Regions from separate parts of the Homo sapiens genome. Here regions 2, 3, 4 and 5 are each linked to region 1. The links are contacts of gene promoters, found by promoter capture Hi-C in human tissues and cell types (Jung and others, 2019). All regions are on one chromosome and are shown on one strand. Each heading gives the region's core, a stretch centred on a gene start or on the middle of the fragment in contact. The rest is flanking DNA. Distances are from core to core; before and after follow the strand shown. Region 1 holds the start of CD180 (CD180 molecule). Region 2 overlaps LOC105379013 (a long non-coding RNA gene). Region 3 overlaps LINC02198 (long intergenic non-protein coding RNA 2198). Region 4 overlaps LOC105379013 (a long non-coding RNA gene). Region 5 overlaps LOC105379013 (a long non-coding RNA gene).

Region 1 (2,700 bases), core at 99-2,598:
AAGGCATACACCCACCTTGGCCTCCCAAAGTGCTGGGATTATAGGCGTGAGCCACCACGCCTGGCCCAGTCTGTGGCATTTGTTATGACAGCCCAAGCAAAGCAACACACACCTTCCCAGCCTTCATTTCTCATTGGCATGATGCCTCCTCTTGGCCTGCTGCTGATTCCATCCTAATGCCAGACCAACAAGGCTCTGCTCACCCAGCTCTGAGCCTTACCCCAGTGCTGGCTTTGCTCTGCTCTTCCTGATCCTCTGATCTCCTTCTAGTCCTGCCCCAGGGCAACTCCACATCTGGCTATTCCTGGCTCTTACTCTTCTTTTTACCTCAACCCAGACCAGCAGCTCACCAAGCCACCAAGACTCATGGTTCCTCCTGTATGCAGCCCTTGTCTGACAGGCCACGTGGTATTGATCACTTGTGGGGTCAGAGAAAGTGGGAGGAAGTTTGAAGCATTTTAGAGGATGGCAAGAGACGGAGGCCCTTCTCCTTTTTCTCTCATTATCCCCTCCAAGAACTTCCCACAGGTTGATAAATATTGCTATGGTCCAAAACAGAAGGTGCAATTTGGCTCTATTCTCAGATTTTCCTCCTATGGGTTAGTAAAACAGATGGAAGGCTGTCCAAGTCCAAGAGAGAGCCAGACTCATTCAGAGTGATCTTTTCAATGCTCGAAAACCTGGCACAGCGCTGTCTTTACTAATTCTCACCCTGAGAGGAGACCAAAGGACTCATTGGGATAGAGGCCATGTGAGAGTGGGGATGTTAAACCAACAGCTCCCCTAGGTTGAGGCAGGTTTAGGGGTCTGCTTTGTGCACACAGACCCTATTAATATCTTATGACCCACTTGGGATTATTTGGGTGGAATTGTTTGAAGAGGAGAAAAATTCTCTTTGCTTCCTATTAAGATGCCACCAGATGATCCCCTGGCAGAGTTCTTTGGCTCCTTTCTCACAATAATGAAAAAATTATATATACACCTTATTTCCTTTTTAAAGACACTAGATATTGGGATGCCAAGGCTCAGATTGGACTGCGTGCTAAATCTCAAAATTTTCAGACAGTTTAATCTGCATAAAGACAAACAGTTTGGACTCACCTCAATGCACATCTGATCCCAGGAGGTGATGACTTTACAGCCGGCAGAAAACAGCACCACCCAAAAGAAGCAGCTGACGTCAAACGCCATCACAGGCTAGGATTGCTTGGTGGGTTTACCTAATGCTTGGAGCTGAGAAATGGAATCAAACTGTGAAGGCCCTGGCAATTTGGCAGCCAGAGAGGTACTCAGAAGGGTGATCTTGGAACAAGAAATGCTGTTGACTGCTCAGCATTCTGTGGCTCTGTGCTGGAAAAAAAAAAAAAAAAAAAAAAGGAAGTCCCTTTTGCATACCACCCATCTTTGCCAAAAATAACTGAGGACCCAACCCCAGAATGGCCCGTTGCATTTCCTGGCACTGAACATGAATCAGTTGTGCAGTCCTTTTGGGCTGATCACACAGACTCTCATTGTGATGGTTCCAATTGACTTTATGCCAACTTCAAGCATTTGGCCAACTCCAACAGCTTCTGGTCCTTTTCCCCGAGAGAGGCTGTGGAAGCTCTACTCACCAAGGAGGCCACTTTCTTAGTTGTCCTAGGTGAGTGAATAGAAGAGGTGTCAGAGAACATGGAAGGGCAGAGCACTCTGCAGGGGCAGACTGAAGAACTGAGCCCTTCAGTGGCACCTGCTGAGCTGGGAACTGGAGCAGGAGGGAGCAGGCTTGAGAGTGTATCTGCTCCTTGAGCCTCAGCTGCTGCCTTGGCCACCTTGTCCATCCCCACCTCTGGTCTTCGTATAGGGGGAAGATTACTTCATCTCTTGACCTGGCGGTTCAGGCTTGTTAAAGCAGTTGGGGTGGACTCTCTTGTTCCCTCCTAACCTGGCCTGGGGAAGTAGGGGACACTGCCATAGATAGAGCAGCCTGGCTAAAGGAGAGTAGAGTTAGGGATGCCAGCCTTGGCTCTATTTCTTCTTAGAAATAGCTTTGAAGCAGGATTACAATTACCCTTATTATGGAGCAAGATGTGGCAATGATTAAAGAAAGCCAAAGTTCAAACATTCCTCAATAGGCTGCATTTAGCTACCTGTTCTGTCTGTTCTTCAACCCTCTGGCATACAGGATATATTTGGTGTTACTGTTCTCCCACTCCATTTCCAAGAGCCCAGTTCTTAGTATCAGAGTTCACAATGACTTAACTACTGCTACTACTACTACTACCACCACCACCACCACCACCACCTCTACAGTATTACTATGATGAATCAAATGACTATAGTATCTGCCATTTATTGAGTCCTTACTATGTGTCAGACACTGGGTCAGGTTTAATGCAGTTTTTTGCTGCATTTTCCTATCCTCGAATATTTCCATATATTCTATAAGAGAGATATTATTATTTCCCTCATTTTATAGATGTAGAAACTGATGCTTAAGAGAAATTAAATGATCTCTCCAAGCCACACAATTAGAGAGTGGTAGATTAGGGCTTCAGATCCAGAAAATCTCACTGCAGAGACTATGCTGCTACTCTTCACAGTTTAAGAAAGGACTTTGCCTCCTGAAGGAGCTGAAGAGTAGATGGGGCGAAGAATGTTGTTCATCTGGAGATTTCAGAAAAGATGCTAAAAAGCAGAGGGGATTGGAGGAAATATGTA
Region 2 (2,700 bases), core at 28-2,527, 1.4 Mb after region 1:
AATTTTAACCAGTAGTTTTTTAATGTGGCCTGCTTTTATACACTCTAGCTAATACTAGTTTTATTATTTGGAATTGTTTTCTTTTCCTTTTAATACTTCTTCCCATGTATTTTATTATTTTATTTTATTTTATTTGTTTTTTTGAGACAAGGTCTCACTCTGTCACGCAGGCTGGAGTGCAGTGGTATGATCTCAGCTCACTGCAACCTCCACTTCCTGGGCTCAAGCGATCCTCCCACCTCAGCCCCCCAAGTAGCCATGTATTTTAAAATCAAAAGGGGAAGGACTTTTGCTTCCTTCCATGAAGGAGTAGTAATTGCATGGTCTTTGCACACCCTCCTCCAAAACCCATAAACAACTAGAAAACTAAATGAAATATATAAAATGTCTGTTTTCCAGCATTAGACAAGAGGCAGTGTAGGTCTATGATCCCTGAAAGCATGACTTGCAGCCTGGAAACAATTTCCTAACCTCAGGGCAGGAAAGGGGGCCCATGCAGAGCTTGGCAGTTTCTCTGAATTGAGGAGAGATAGGAGCTCAGAAAGGCTGAGGCAGCTGGAAATTACAGGGCAGCATTCCAGAGAAGGAGGAGCTACACAAAGGAAGAATGCCAGAAACCTGCATAAGAGTCCCATTGAGTGGCTGAATCCAAAACTGCACATGTGTAAGTGAACTCCACAAATCCAGGCAAAGAACAACTGCCGGGGTTTTCTATCGGAACAATTCTCTGAGCTCATTCAGGGCTGAATGACATTCAACGTTTTATTCCTTGGAGTGGAAAGACTCCATTTGAATATCTAGGTATTCAATAAAGACTACAGAAAAGCCAAGCCTTAGTAGTAGGAATAAACTAACACTACAATAAGGCTACTCTAGACCTATCCTAACAAAGCTTAACAATAAGGCTCAAAAGGATAAAACTGATATGCAAGTAACGGCCTGCCAAAGCAAATATCAACACTCTAAAAGACGATAACAAAATCCAAATAGTCAATAATATAACATTCCTAACATCTAACATCCAATAAAAAATTGTTAGATATGCCAAGAAGTAGCAAAATGTGACCCTTAATCATGAGAAAAATAAGCGAATGGAAATAAACCCAAAAGTGGCTAAGAAGTACAATTAGCAGACAAGAACTTTAAAAGAACTACTATCAAAACCCAGCAATTTAAGAGAAAGCAAGGACATAAATAAAGAAGTTGAATATATGAAAAGGAGCCACACAAATGTTCTAGAGTTCAAAAATAACATATCTGAAGTGAAAAAAGATTCACTTAATGGTCTTAACAGCAGATAAGACACTGTAGAAAAAAGGCCAGCAAACTTGAAGATATAGCAATAGAAACTATCCTAAATCAAGCACAGAGAGCAAAAAGGCTGGAAAAAAATGAATGAAACTTTAGTAAGCTGTCAGACAAGCAGTCTAACGTACATGTAATTGGAGTCTCAGATTGAGAGATAAGAGAGGAAGAAGTAAAAAAAAATTTAAAGAAATAATAGTTGAAAATATTCTAAAATTGATAAAAATAATAAGCCTACATGTTCAAAAAGCATGAGAAATGCAGGGCAAACACAAAAAAACACCACACCAAGTGTGATAGCCAACCTTCAAGATGGCTTCCAGTGACCCTCATCTGCAGGTATTCATGCCGTTGTATGGTTTCCTTCCATACAAAATAGTGCTGACCTGTGTGACCAATTGGATATTGTGGAGATAATGGCATGTGACTTCTGAGTCTAGATCACAAAAGGCACTGCAGCTTCTGCCTTGCTTTCTTTTGAATCACTTGTTCTGAGAGAAGCCAGCTACAATGTCATGAAGACACTCAAGCAGCTCTGTGAAGAAGCTCATATGTAAAGAAATTGAGGCCTCCTATCCAAGTCACCATCAACTTGCCAGACACATGAGTGAGCCATCTTGGAAGCAGACCCTGCAGCGTCAGTCAAGCTTTTAGATGACTCCAGGCCCAGTCAACATCTTGACTGAACCTTCATTAGAGACCCACAGCAAAACCAAGTAAGCTACACCTGAATATCAAACCCACAGAAATGGCAAGAGATAAGTGCTCGTTGTTTTAAGCCACTTGACTTTGGGGCATAATACTTTACACAGAAATAATTAGTTGTGTTTCTATTTGCTCATAAAAAAAGAGGAAAACAAAATCAAAAAAAAAAAAAACCCTTAACAATAGCTATGAAACAGCATCTACTGAAAATTACAGAACATTACTAAGAGAAATTAAAGTAGACCTAAATAAATGGAGCTACCTACCGTGTTCACAGAGTAGAGGACACAAGACTATTAAATACCACTTTTTCCCAAATTAATCTATAGGTTCTAGCAATCTTTTCGTAGACACTGATAAGCTCATTCTAAAATGTATATGGAAATGCAATGAACCTAAAATAGCAAAATAAATCTTGAAGTAAGAACAAAGCTGGAGGCCTTATATGCCTTACGTCAAGAATTATTACAAAACTACAGAGCTCAAGATAATGTAGGGTTAGCATAAAAGTAAACATCTAGAAAAATGGAATGGAATACAAAGTCCAGATATGGATCACACATATGTGATCAATTGGCTTTAGCAAGGGTACAAAGACATTTCAGTGGTAAAAGGAAAAATTTCCAACATATGGTGTTGAAATTACTGGAAATATATGAGGGGAAAAATGAACATCAACTTTTATCACAC
Region 3 (2,700 bases), core at 63-2,562, 1.8 Mb after region 1:
GGTGCATCCTCAGGCCCCCCAGTGACTACCTTCATGGGGGCTGTTGATGGGTAGGGCCCTTTGCCTCTAGGTTCATTAGCCCCACACTGCTCTCTTCTGAGGTTTCAGTTTTTCTGTCTCTTTCATTCGGGGGCTCACTGTTTCTGCTTCCTTCCACCTTCCCAGCTCCCTTTTCTAATCCATTGCTAATTATCTGCTGGATGTTTGGACCTTGAGAGCTTGTTTGGAGGTTCTAGCAAGCGGGCACAGCTACTTGTATACCCTTGACCAAAGACTGGTCCTCCTCTATCCGGGATGGTCATCCTCTTCAACCAAGCGCACAGATTCAGGAGGGACACACATGGAGCAGTAAGTGGGGAAAGGGACACCCACCTAGCCAGCCAGATCAACTGAATCAACCCTGGTAATCAAGGGGGTGACAGAAGTCACAGCCAGATCACCCTCACATGTATCTGCTGGGTGTTTGGAACCCACTGATCACACTTGTTTTCAGCGCATGCTCAGCGTGGGTTCCGAGGGCCTTTCCCATGAGTAAAATGCCCACGCCTCAGTTCATCAGCTTGATGCTGCCTCTTTTGCTCAGTCTTGTCAGCTCATTTCCTGGTTCTTGCTGTGTTCTAGGCAGATGATTCAAGAGATGTTTTAGACAGTCTCAGTAGAAGCTTTCACTGCATTGGAAGTCATACCTGGGAACTAGACTTAAAATAATAACTCTCCAATGACCCCTGGAGGAACGAGTGGGTGACTTGAGAGGAACACACTGCTGTAGCAAAGACTGGAAATTTCAAAAAAGAAAAAGAAACATAAAGAAAACAGGGAATAAGAGGAAGATTTTTATACTTTCTCTTTTTTTTCCCAGCTAGCTAGTTGCTTTAATTTTTCAAATATTTACTTCCTCACCTCAACCCTGTTCCATAACCTCAACAGAGGGTAAAGTAGACCACCAGAATACATGATGGAAAGTGTAATAAAGAGAGATGAAGATGATTCCAAACATAAGAGTAGGCATTATGTATTCTAATTCGTTCAATCACTTGGACCTAAAAAAAATTCTATTTTGTTTCAGTGACTAAACTGGATAAAAGGGTGAGACTTGTTGCTTATGAAACACACTGCTAGGTTTTCAGAGTTTCACAGAACCCTTCTTTGTGAACACAAAGTTCTGTTTCCAAGTTGTCTCCTCAGTCTTCAGAGCTATTTTTTCATCCATGTTACCAAAACTCCTCATGCTAACTTCGACCTTCATTCACTTAGTAACATTTACCCAGGTCCTGCTACATGCCTGGCACTTCCCAGGGCATAGTCCCAACAGCACTTCCCTCAGCTTTTTGTCCCTCTTTGATTAAAGACAACCAAAAGGCCTCTAGAACTTGTTAGAATTCTTCCTAACAAATGAACATAAATATACAAAAGCGTGTTCATTGCAACACTGTTTAAATAGCAAAATGTTGACAAGAATCTAAATGCTCTAAAATGGGTAATTGATACAATGGAATATGCTGTGCATCTATAGTTATGGACCCGAGAATACAGTCATCTTGTATTAATAAGTGAGAAAAGATACATTTTACAGACAGACAAGTAACTACAGCATAATCGCTTTTATAGAACTCCATATTACTTATAAACATAGAGATGCATTTTTTAGTTAGAAGAATGTACACCAAAATAGGTGACAGAACTGTGAATGATTTTCCTCTCTTTTTGCTTGTCTCTATTTTCTAATGTTGTTTTAAGCAATTATGGATTTTAAAAAATCAACCAACATTTTAAAAAAAAATTTCTCTGATCAAGAGAAACAACTCCATTGCCTTATCAGTCACTGCAAACCTTACTAAAGTATGAGAAAGCCTCTCCTTAAAACCAAGTGCATTAAATCCAAGAGATGGAAACAGAGATGTCAATAATCTGCATCAGGAAAATCCCGAATGTTATGTCACAGAACTACTGGAACTGGTGTGCAGAGAGGATGCAGGCAGAAATACAGTAAGAAAAGAGACAATTCACCAACAAAGCAAATTAAAGAGGCTCAGGTCCCACGTAGACCAGTGGGCAGGGATGAGATACAAAACAGAAAAGAGAGGAATGAGGGTAAGGGGGAAGTTTCTGTAAGAGCAGTTGCTCTGCCTCTTCTCTTCCCACTCTCAGGACATAAGGCTCTGTATAGTACAAATCAAGGCTCGGGGTGAACTCACAGAAATTAATTGAAAGTATACACAGAAAATGATTTCACTCCAAATCTTTCCATCCACTCCTTAGAACATGTCCAGTCAGGCCAGGCGCAGTGGCTCATGCCTGTAATCCCAGCACTCTGGGAGGCTGAGGCAGGCAGATCACCTGAGGTCAGGAGTTTGAGACCAGCCTGACCAATATGGTGAAACCCAATCCCTACTAAAAATACAAAATTAGCCGGCATGGTGGCGCATGCCTGTAATCCCAGCTATTCGGGAGGCTGAGGCAGAAGAATCACTTGAACCCGGGAGGCAGTGGTTGCAGTGAGCCAAGATTGCGCCATTGCACTCCAGCCTGGGCAACAAGAGCGAAACTCCATCTCAAAAAAAGAAAAAAAAAAAAAAAAAGAACATGTCTAATCAAAGGGCTATCTCCAGCTAGGCATGGTGCCTCATGCCTCTAATTCCAGCATTTTGGAAGGCTGAGGCAGGTGGATCAGGAATTCGAGACCAGCCTGGCCAACATGGT
Region 4 (2,700 bases), core at 11-2,510, 1.4 Mb after region 1:
ACCCCCATTCTTTCTGGAACTTCAAGATGGTATAAAAGCATCAACCATCTGGACATTTTTTAAGTTCTATTTTATATGACTCCCACACACATTAATAGCTTTGCATACCCTTTCTTCTATTAATCTGTCTTTTGTCAGTTGATTTTTAGCAAATCTTCAGACGGCAAGGGGGAAGTTTTCCATTTGCCCCTATGATAAGAACTGGTTGAAGAAGATGACATAAAAATACAAAACCATAAAAGAAAAAGTGATTAGATGTGACTACATTAATTTTGTTTGTTTATTTTAGCATCTCTATGGCAAAAAGACAACATAAAAATAAAATGTCAAATGATACATGAAAAAAATTGCAACATGTATTGTAGTCTAAGCATTAATGCTCTTAATACCATATACAAAGAGCATTTGCAAATCATTAATATGAAAAAGACCAGTATCTCATTAGAAAAAAATAGGCAAAGGATAGAAAGAGGACATTCACAAAAGAAGACATACAAAGGATGAATAAACAAAGGAAAAATGGTCAACATAACTAGCAAACAAATAAAAGTAAAGTTTCATCAGATGGTCAAAGGTTTTATAAACAGAGGATTTTTGGTGTTTGAGAGGACATGGAAAATGGTATTTTGTATACTGTTGATAGAAACTTTCAGAAGGGCCGCATCTATTTGGTAACATGTACCAAAAACTTAGTGTGCATATTATTTGATCTCATAATTCCATTTTTAGGAATTCATCCTAAGATAAATGTATATAAAAGGATATTTGCAACAGAATTGTTTAAAATAGAAAAAAGTAAAACAAGCTAAAAATCTAGCAATATGTCATTGATTAAAAACAATAATGAATCAATGCCTTAACCATACAGCAGAAAACATACTTTCATTAATTATATATATCATCGAATTATACCTATTGGGAATAGATACCAATCCAGGCAGAGAAACTAGCTTGTGCAAAGGCCCTATAATGGGAAGGGCTCCAACTCCACATGGGTTTTTGCAATCAGTTTTACCTTTGCGGGAGTCTACCCTAAGTTAAGCCTGAAGGTGAAACTTCACTAATCAGGGCCCCTATCTTTTGTGTTCATTGCTATTTGCCAAGTGCTTTGCACAGCCCTGGCACAATACACCTGTTAAACTGCTCTGCATGCCATTTCTATAGAAGTGTTTCTCTGTGGGTATATGGAAGGATGCTCACAAAATGTTAACAGTGGTGACCTCTAAGTTGAAGCGCTTGGGGGATGCTTTCTTCTTTCTATTTTTATGTGTTGCTTGAAATGTTAATGATAACCATGAGTTGGCTTCATAATTAGAAATAATTGCGTTATTGTTCTTTTAAAAGTTTATGAAGAAGAAAAAGATCTGGATGTAACAGAAAGTACCTACTAGCCATTGAATTCAGATATTTTTGGTTTATTTCTTGAACGTAGTCTCTTACACTTCTATCAAAGGCTACAAACAAGGCAGCCACACCTCACTGTCAGTGGCTGAAAAGGCACCTGACACTGACACAGTCTGGGGACAGTCAACAGTATTTGGGCCACATTCAGAGAGAAGCCACCCCCAACCCCAGACCTGCCATGCTGGCTGCCCCTCCATGGAAAGGAATGTTCTTCCCCTCCTTCCACCACCTGGCAGCAACACACCACTTATCCTTTTACTCCTAACTCAGCCTCACCTCCTCTGGAAGCTTCCTCGATCCTGGCGCTTTTCCTCTACGTCCCTGCAATGCTCTCTTCATTCCTCTTGCATCACCATCTCTCTTGGGTTCTAAGTGATCCATTTACTTACCTGTCTCATTCATTCTCATGAGCTCCTTGAAAGCAGGAAGGCTGTTTTACTCTATAGTTAATAGTTTTATGCTATTTGCAGGCCCAGCCTATCACCCAATATATAGCAGAAGCTCAATAAGTACTTGTGAATGAACAAGCAGACAGTAGCAACTTTATCCTCGGCTTTGCCATACAGCTATTACTATGCCCTAAGAAACTTTCCCACACCTCAAGTTCTTTTGTAGCTGGCTTGGCCTAGCCCTCCAGCTGTGTCAGGCACTCTGCAGATATCAATTCACATGACTACATTCCTGGTCTGAGGGATGGAGGTGGTTTACCTCCCAAACATCAGGGAGGTCAAAGGACGCCACCCTTATGTATCCTCTGACTGCCACAAACTCTGTTCAAATAAAAATAAGATGGGAGACCAGTTTAAAGTAAGATCAAAGCTTCTGAGGCTTGTCATGTGTCCAGACACCAAAGCATTCTGAAGGAAAAGGCAGTATTTCTCCAATCCACGTTTTACCAGTGGATAGAAAGCACATGCTGATCCTGATCCTTGCCACCCTGCAAGCAGAACTTTCTCACACATGAAAGGGCTCTGGGTACCCAGCAGTTACATTTTCTTACTGTGAACCCCTCTACCCGTGAGCTTCCAGGTGGGTTTATGCCAAGCAAGCCCTGGGCAGCCCAAGTTATAGAAATGTTACTGGAACAAAGAAGAAAAACAAAAACTGTGAAGTTATGTGTGTTGACAGACTGGCAATGTTTTTATCTGATTCAGTAAGCTTTTCTCTGAGGTTTAGCAGGAATTGCAAATGCTAAGCTGTTCCACCTGAGTTGAGCTTTTAAAATGCTGCTGCTTTGGAATCAGAACTGTAGGAAATAATAATGTTTCCATTAACAACAAGAAACAGTGTTAGAAC
Region 5 (2,700 bases), core at 17-2,516, 1.5 Mb after region 1:
GGGGTTTAGAGTCTGGTGTCTTCAAATAGAATATGAGCCTTACATCCAGTCAGGGCTTTTCAAATATTTGTAGCAGGCTCTGGGTTTGAGGGGGAAGAAACAGAGAGAATATGACACAACTCTAAAAGCTACATTTTTCTATAGTAGACTCCAAACTAAAGACATTTATCACTTGTCAAAAGTAGACAGTGTCTTGAAATACAATGATTGAAGGGCAAATGCTCTCTGACTTGACAAGAGTCTGTTTATAATTACAGCATTAGGATAGACACACTTTAATTAAAAATCATGAAAAGGACCTTAGCTGTACTGTGAAGCCTCCATTAAAATCCTGGCAGAGGAGCCGCTTTCTGGCCAAGCTTCTATTTTCAGATACCTGCCCTTTATTAAAGGATTTCCTTTAGTCTAAAATTTCTTAGATTTATGCTTTGACTGTTGATGACTTTTTGGCAATATCCAAAAAAGAAGAAACCAAAAAAGTACATCCCTCAAACCTGAACAGATAACATCATTCTATCCCTAGTCCAAGCAGCTGTGGTTGAGGGGCAGAGTAGTAGAGTCCCAGGACTACTGTCCACCTTGCAGGAACTTGGGGAGGGGGTATTATAAGTGGCCCTACAGGCCATTCAGCCCAGCTCTCTAATTTTATACACATGAGGCTCAGGGAGGACAAGTGACTGTCCAGGGCCACCATCCAGTGGTGGGAGACCTGGAACACACCAGTATCCAGTCTAGATGATCACTTTCGGAAGCTGAGCTGCTCAGTCAACTGAAAGAGATGGAATTCTGAAATTTCAAATACCATCACCTATTACTTCCCAGGCTGCACTCCCCAAAGCACCAATCCTGTAGATACTTGGTTTAATAAATAGAAAATAGAGGAAGGAAGGAAAGAAGGCCATCCAGGGCCAACAAACCTGGGACATGTTACATACCATATTTCCTTCTTGAAGATTCACATCACACACTAGGAAACCTGAGAAAGAAGCCCAGCAGAAAAGAAATCTGTTTAACTCAAAACTCTTTTTCCAAGTGACATCTATTAACATCCTGCAGACCTGATGTTCTAGGAAACATACACTGGGACATGCTGGCTTAGTGAGAAGACAAATGAATTTCAAAATAATTGGGCTGGAAAGTAAAGAAATTGAACCAGTCTGGCTCATGTCAAGCAAGAGTTCAGAAATGCTACCATGTCATCTTTATTTTCTTCCCCTGGGTCTTTTTATCCTGGCAACTTGGAAAGAAATGGAGGATAAGGGTGTCCCTGAATAGCAAAGATAAAGAGAATTAACTTTTTAGTTTTCCATTAAAGGTATGTGTAAAAAAGTACACACAGAGACCCTGCCTCTGCCACTCTTCTCCATGGGTATTTAAATTCCTACCAGAAATGTAATGCTTAGAATAGTATTCCTACCTATTTATAACTTCTATATGGTGAACTACCATGACTGTTCCCCCTCAAAGCTGGTAAAGTTACATTTCTACCTCAGAAACTGTGAGGAAATCAAATATGGCCTTTAAATAAACTAATTTGAAAGGTTTGAAAAAATATTAAGAGACTTTAAAAAAGGAATAGGGGACTTGAATATCCCAAAGTGTGAAAATGCCACATTTTTATACTCAAATGATTCAAAATAGATGAACAGAACGCTTCCCAACTTTCCAAAAATATGCACCTTCAGGCAATAAAAAAAATCAATCTAAAGGGTCATTTATTTCCAGAGCCTAAAAGCCCAATTTAGCACTCCAATGAGCCCCCACAGCTGACTGGATATGGGAGACAGGGCTGAAGGAAGGTCATTCACACTCCTCCCTAACTCCTTAATGATATGTTTAGCTGGGCTAATTTTAGACCTGTCGGAAGCTTTTGATTCAGTTAACCATAAGGTGTTGGTAACAAGACTGTGGTCAACAGCAGGCATGGGCTGCACTCTCTTGAAGTCAGTGGGTGAGTTCATTCCTGGAAGGAGGGTGCCAGTAGGTAGTCACAGAGAACTGCTCGTGATCCACATATATCTCCTGGGAGGTCTTTTCTCCCTGCCCTATTTACTCAGCATGGGCAGAAGACTCTGGGACCCATCTGTGGAAGCAACGTATTCTTGATGGCACCCATCTCATTATCATCTTTTCTACTGATCGATTCAAAACTATCTTATCCTTTGACTTGGCTCATAGTTATTTTGGTTTAGGCAGGAAGTAGTAGGCTTCAAGTCAACCTGAATAGGCTAAGTTTGTGATCTTCCGTCAGAGGAAATGCTTTAAGGATGTCAGAGGTGGAGTTGCATCATAGCTATTCAGGGATGGAGGCTCACTAACGCGTCTTTTAACAGGAGCTTCAGCATGGACAAGAAAAGCCTTTTTTTTTTTTTTTCTTGAATTCAGAGATGCCTGTACCTACATCAACTTCCAGAAAAGGCTACCCCTCCAGTTGCTATGTTTCACCTGGTAATAGCCACCCTTTTCTCTACTTTGCTAGATTTTACAGGGGAGTTTTATTACCCTAATTTCTTTAGCCTTGTTACTTTTTGTACCAATCAATTCATATCCTTTCTACTGTCTCAAGGTTTACTATGAATGGATTTTATTTGGTGCTGTGCAATTTTGTTCTACATATGCTCTGTAAAGGTATCTGTAGCAAAGAAAATGTCAATGTTCTACTCAAAAATTCACCAGCCCAATGAGGGAAAAATGCTTTTA

The links. The method cuts DNA at HindIII sites, captures the fragments that hold promoters and counts their contacts. A contact is called where the count stands out against the background at its distance.
Region 2: a fragment that was not itself captured here is called in contact with the fragment with the promoter of CD180 in region 1 in 1 of the 25 tissues and cell types used here (dorsolateral prefrontal cortex).
Region 3: a fragment that was not itself captured here is called in contact with the fragment with the promoter of CD180 in region 1 in 1 of the 25 tissues and cell types used here (dorsolateral prefrontal cortex).
Region 4: a fragment that was not itself captured here is called in contact with the fragment with the promoter of CD180 in region 1 in 1 of the 25 tissues and cell types used here (dorsolateral prefrontal cortex).
Region 5: a fragment that was not itself captured here is called in contact with the fragment with the promoter of CD180 in region 1 in 1 of the 25 tissues and cell types used here (dorsolateral prefrontal cortex).

The regions. Positions count from the first base shown.
Region 1 is chr5:67,195,451-67,198,150 of GRCh38, forward strand. It overlaps CD180 (CD180 molecule), which reads right to left and starts at 1,349. Exons shown (of 3, transcript NM_005582.3): 1 at 1,102-1,349. The coding sequence starts at 1,191. RefSeq lists an enhancer at 173-322. The HindIII fragment of the contact is 16,000 bases long and covers 1-2,700 here.
Region 2 is chr5:68,561,927-68,564,626 of GRCh38, forward strand. The region is part of intron 3 of LOC105379013 (a long non-coding RNA gene); the gene reads right to left. The region is part of intron 1 of LOC105379011 (a long non-coding RNA gene); the gene reads right to left. Among named protein-coding and RNA genes, the nearest start is that of PIK3R1, 350 kb to the left of the region's middle. The HindIII fragment of the contact is 3,292 bases long and covers 1-2,700 here.
Region 3 is chr5:68,970,303-68,973,002 of GRCh38, forward strand. LINC02198 (long intergenic non-protein coding RNA 2198) reads right to left here. Exons shown (of 4, transcript NR_130778.1): 2 at 1-775. All of the region lies in intron 1 of LOC107984116 (a long non-coding RNA gene), which reads right to left. It also overlaps the pseudogene RN7SKP251. Among named protein-coding and RNA genes, the nearest start is that of LINC02198, 58 kb to the right of the region's middle. The HindIII fragment of the contact is 4,273 bases long and covers 1-2,700 here.
Region 4 is chr5:68,630,001-68,632,700 of GRCh38, forward strand. All of the region lies in intron 2 of LOC105379013 (a long non-coding RNA gene), which reads right to left. Among named protein-coding and RNA genes, the nearest start is that of LINC02198, 400 kb to the right of the region's middle. The HindIII fragment of the contact is 3,424 bases long and covers 1-2,700 here.
Region 5 is chr5:68,724,230-68,726,929 of GRCh38, forward strand. The region is part of intron 2 of LOC105379013 (a long non-coding RNA gene); the gene reads right to left. Among named protein-coding and RNA genes, the nearest start is that of LINC02198, 300 kb to the right of the region's middle. The HindIII fragment of the contact is 3,096 bases long and covers 1-2,700 here.